2 separate regions of the Homo sapiens genome follow, and region 1 is linked to region 2. Evidence: promoter capture Hi-C in 16 types of primary human blood cells and fetal thymus (Javierre and others, 2016). All regions are on one chromosome and are shown on one strand. The core of a region is centred on a gene start or on the middle of the fragment in contact, and the rest is flanking DNA. Distances in the headings are between cores, read along the strand shown. Region 1 has its middle 21 kb from the start of TOGARAM2. Region 2 holds the start of PCARE (photoreceptor cilium actin regulator).

Region 1 (2,700 bases), core at 84-2,583, 110 kb after region 2:
AGTTTGCGTTACTACACTCCAGCCTGGGTGGCAGAGTGAGAAAGATTCTGCCTCCAAAAAAATTAAAAATTAAATAATAAATTATACCTCAAAGCTTTTTTTAAACAAAAGCCTTTGTCTACTGCTCTGATGGCTGGGGCCAGTCTCTTGTCACTCTGGAAACTGAGGACACTTGGATTCTACCCAAGCCTCCAAGCAGTGGCATATCAGTCTCGGAGCTTCTAGCTGGTGATGTGCAGAGGGCCTCAGAGGACTCAGGACAGCAGGGTCAATTTTTTTGACCCTAGGCTGCTAACTCACTGACTAGAACTGAATCTGGTTCTCTTCAGTTTTGCACCAACTCTGCCAAGCCACTCTATCTTATACTAAACATCATACTCAAACCAAAAAAAAGAAAAAGAAAGACTTTGTCATTATCTTGCCTCTTGGTGTGTTCCGGTATGAAGTATACAGCATCACCTTTGATGTCTTGTCAAATCGAATCAAGCTTAAGACCTGTGCTGTTTCAGACCATAGCCACTAGCTACATGTGGCTATTTAAACGTAAATTAGTGAGAATGACATAAAATTAACAATTCTGTCACTCAGCCACATGGATACATGTTAGGTGCTCACTGGCCACCTGCGGTGAATGACTTCCATTTTGGACAGCACAGAGAACATTTCTGTCATCACAGAAAGTTGTACTGGGTAGTTCCGAGGTACAACTTCCAGATGATAGAAAATACAGAGGGTACAGGAATGAGTTAAACTCACTTAGGGAAATGATCTAATCCAGCATGTGGCTCATTCTGCAAGACAACTGGCCTGGTCTCCTCGGTGTGTGATTGTTACAGATAAAACTAAGGGGGCAAGAGGGTAAGAGACCGTTTTAGAGCAAAAGTAACTAAAGAAGACTTGACAAACAAACCCAGTGAGTGAGTGTGGATTGGATCCTGATTTGAAAAGAAACTGAATATTAACGTGCTGCTGCTACACTCCAGCCTGGGTGACAGAGTGAGCAAGATTCTGCCTCAAAAAAAATTAAAAATTAAATAATATTAAATAATTAGACAGGAGGATGGTATTAGGGGATTACGGTTTGGAGCTTCAGAGATATAAGAATGGTATTGTAGTTATTGCAGGAGTCATAATCTGTAGGCACGTCACCCTGAAGTAGTTAAGAATAAAGTGTGATGATGCCTTCAGTTTACTTTCTAGTAGATCAGCAAAAATAAATATATGCACACAAATACAGATGAAGAAAAATATAGCCAAATATAGTCATGGACTGCATAATGACATTTTGGTCAATGTTGGACCACATATACAACGGTGGTCCCATAAGATTATAATACAATAGCGTATTACTTGGCTTTTTCTATGTTTAGATACACACATCTCTCTGTGTTCCAACTGCCTACAGTACTCAGTCCAGGAACATGCTGTCCAGGTTTGTAGCCTAGAAACAATGTAGGCTACATAAGATAGCCCACATGTGTAGCGGGCTGTGCCGCCCAGGTTTATGTCAGTGCACTCTTTGATTCTCACAATGACACAATTTCACCTAACAACATCTTTCAGAACATATCCCCGTTGTTAAGGGTCATATGACTATATCAACAGTGTTTTACTTTAAGTGGCGTGTATATACAGATCATCATACTATTCTTTTTTTTCTTTTTTTTGAGCCAGAGTCTCACTCTGTCGCCCAGGCTGGAGTGCAGTGGCACGATCTCAGCTCACTGCAAGCTCCGCCTCCCAGGTTCACTGCCTCAGCCTCCTGAGTAGCTGGGACTACAGGCGCCCGCCACTACGCCCGGCTAATTTTTTGTATTTTTAGTAGAGATGGGGTTTCAGCATGTTAGCCAGGATGGTCATGATTTCCTGACCTTGTGATCCGCCCCCCTCGGCCTTCCAAAGTGCTGGGATTACAGGCATGAGCCACCGCACCCGGCCTATACTATTCTTTTAACTTTTCTGTATATTTGAAATTTTCCTAAGTTGGGAAAAGAAGTGAAAAACCATATTCTTCTCCCTCTTCCCCACTATCATTGACATATGTAAACTCCTGGATTTCATGGACAAAGTCTATGGGGAAATTGATGCAGTTGGTGTATGATGTGGTTAATTTCTTTCTTATTTTGGCTATTACTTCACTATTTAAGGACATGAGGGGGAAACATCAATTCAAGCTTCCTATGCTCAGCAACTGTGTCAGACTAAAGAGCTGCTGCAGCTTCTCTTGACAGCTGGGCACTTTTTCGGGTTAGCATCTGTAGCCCGGTGGGGAGTTTGGTCAGGTCCAGGGAGGGTACAGCCAGGCCAGGGAAACTGGAGGTGCAGCCACCACCTGGAGACTCGATCTCCTCCCATCAGGATTCCCTCCAGGCCCCTCTCATCACGCCTGCTGCTGGGCTACAGTCATTCAGGTTCCGCTTCAGGACTTGGACACCAGAAAAGAGCTGCAAGCACTTTGGAGATTCTCTCAGCCAATCCCAGAGGGCTGGCGCGCAGAAAGCTCACATCCCCACCCTCCACGGGAGTTTAGACAGGAGGCGGCCAGAACCAACTGCTCTCCCAGAAGGCTGGGATAAAAAGAAATTTGCACAAAGCAAGACTGGCACCTAGTGGATGCTTTTTATATTGACGTTTGTATTATACTTCTAACCAGAGAAAGTAACCTGGACAATCCCGACAAGCCTGGTGAAGATGAGAAAA
Region 2 (2,700 bases), core at 132-2,631:
AGTAAGAAACTTTTTTTTTTTTTTTTTTTTTGAAGACAGGGTCTCACTTCCAAAGTCCAGGCCAGCTTGCAATAGCACTATTACAGCTCACTGCAGTCTCAACTTCCTAGGCTCAGGTGATTCTCCCACCTCAGCCTCCGGAGTAGCTGGGATTACAGGTGGGTGCCAACATCCCCAGCTAATTTTTTGTATTTTTAGTAGAGACAGCCTCACCATGTTGCTCAGGCTGGTCTCAAACTCCTGAGCTCAAATGATAAGCCTGCCTCAACCTTCCAAAGTGCCGAGATTTATAGGCGTTGAGTCACCACACCTGGCTGAAACTGCATGTTTTTGAGTACCTACCTTGGGTCAAGCACTTACCAAGTATTAATTGACAATCCTCACAATGGCTCTGTGAGGTAAGTACCGTGGTCCTCATTTCAAAGATGAGCTCTGCCTCAGGAAAGCTTAAAAACTATCAGAAGTTTCCTCAACTAACAGGAGAAAGACTCAGGATTCAAACTCCAGTCTTTCTAGGCCAAGCTGTTGTTCTAGATTTTACTGACAGCAAATAAAGTTTAAAAGGAGGTTTTAAATGGGCAGCTGCTACCCTTAGCCACAGGCAGGAGCCCCATGCTCAGTTTGAGCAGAAAAATGGGCTTCCCCTTGAGTTCTCCTCTTAATAATGAAATGGCTCTCCACTGCCCAGTTTTTAGCTTGTTTTCCTATGAAGAAGTTTGAATAAGAAGCCTCTTCCCATGAAAGCATTGCCTTCCTGAGCGTAGTGACCAGCCTTGAGCTTTACATGGCAGTGACTTTTCCTGCTGTCCCCATCCAAACTGGGGGGGATAGCTTTCCTGCTACCTAACTCAATTTTCTAATGCAAAGGAAAAGCAACCTGCCTTCTTCATTCACTATCTTATTTAGAGACATTCTCTATACTAGAGTCCCGGGGTTTTTATAAGCCACACAAACAATAATGCATTACTTCAATTATTATCTATTGTGTGTTTTGGGGGCTTCTTGATAACAGCAGATTGGAGCACACTTGGCTGGTTTGCCCTTATTAAACCGTGAAGGTCACTTCTCTTCCAGGGCCTGTAATCAACGAGCCCTCTCTTCTCTTCCACAAATGCATCTCTTCCAGAGCCTTTGCAATTATGGCTCATTTCTCTAGGTTTCATATGGCAGGCGTCTGAACAGAATTAAAAGCATGAGCACGTGCAAAAATAATCCGCTTCCCAAGATAGTAAATGCTGAGAAGTTCTATATTAGAACACACTGTGAGTGCTGACTGGCTAGGGCATGATTAACCTAATAGGCTTAAGCTGCACTTGCTATCCACATCTGTCAGGACGCGAGCAAAACACAGGCCCGTAATCCACCAGGCTGGGAGCCTTCAGAATTGTCCCGCTGCTCACTAACAGCAGAGGGTTCCAAACTTAGAACAACAACAGGACGACAGGTACCACTCCCTCTTCACATTTGGACCAAGAAAATAAAGAAAGCTGGTTCCAAGTTTAGGATATTGTACCATGGACTTCAAAGAATTCTGGCCTGAAAATTGCCTGGATGGACTAGTAAGATTGCCTTTTGTTCCTATTTCAAATATGATTCTTGGAAAATTGTGAAGGTGGGTGGAAGATGACTACAAGCTGAAATCATGGGGTGTACACCTTCACACAGTGACCTTGTAAACAGCGTTGCAAAGAGTGGCATTCAGTTCTTGAAAAAGCCCAAAGCAATTCGGCCAGGATGTCAGGGCGGAAGTGAAAGAGGTTCCATCCCTTTGCTGGTTAAAAACTCCACCTGCTATGACGCTGGGGAGGGCCTGGCAGAGGAGCAGCCAAGTCCCAGGAGGAACCAAACCACAGCTAAAGGTCTTTGTCAGCTCATGGGAGATCCTGCTTCAGGCAAAAGGAAAGATATGGAAGGACTGATCCCAGGAACCAAAACCTCTTCATCCCAGCTGAACAAATCACAAAGCCACATGGCTAAGGATATTCCGTTCAAGACACAGGGTTCCCATGGATCACAAGGGGCAGACTTTTCTGGAGATGAGAGTGAGGAAAGTAGTACCCAAGATACTTCCAAATGGAAAAGGACAGCAAAATGTCACACGTCAAGCACACAGAGCCACTGCTACCAAACCATCCACCCTGCTCATGAGCCTGAAGGCAAAGTGGACTTCCCGGAGCCTCTGGTAAAGGCCCACCAGCAGGCTTACACCTATCTACACTCCAGCCTCTCCAAATATGAAGCAATTCTGTGCATCATCCATCAGGCCACCCAGACCCGGGAGCTGCTGCAGCCCATGGTCAGCTTCTTGCTGCTGTGCTTTGAGGAGATCAGCCAGCTGTTGGGGGAGATCTCCAAGGATGGAGAAGTGCTCCTGCAGGAAGTCAGGGAGGATCTGGCTTGGCCTTTGAAGAAAAGAGAGCCCCAGGAGCAGCCAAATCTCCTGCAACAGCTGCTACAGTACACAGTCAGCAAGCTGCAGGTGCTCAATGGCACAGTGGCCTCGCTCACCGGCAGCTTCCTGGAGGGCTCCAGCAGCTACCTCCACTCCACTGCAACCCACTTGGAAAATAAGCTGAGCACAAAAAGGAATGTGGATGAACGCCTCCTGAGGGCTCTGAGGCAGCTAGAGAGCCTGGCGAGTGGCTGTGGCGACCCTGGGGTGCAGGGTCTCCCCTTATGCTCTGAGGACAGTGGCATTGG

What was found. Contacts are between HindIII fragments. The CHiCAGO score rates a contact against its expected background, and 5 or more counts as called.
Region 1: a fragment that was not itself captured here is called in contact with the fragment with the promoter of PCARE in region 2 in 1 of 17 cell types (M2 macrophages); the score reaches 7.7 in M2 macrophages.

Annotation. Positions count from the first base shown.
Region 1 is chr2:28,958,710-28,961,409 of GRCh38, reverse strand. It overlaps a transcript of TOGARAM2 not described here. Among named protein-coding and RNA genes, the nearest start is that of TOGARAM2, 21 kb to the left of the region's middle. The HindIII fragment of the contact is 1,687 bases long and covers 490-2,176 here.
Region 2 is chr2:29,073,204-29,075,903 of GRCh38, reverse strand. PCARE (photoreceptor cilium actin regulator) reads left to right here and starts at 1,381. Exons shown (of 2, transcript NM_001029883.3): 1 at 1,381-2,700. The coding sequence starts at 1,643. The HindIII fragment of the contact is 3,299 bases long and covers 449-2,700 here.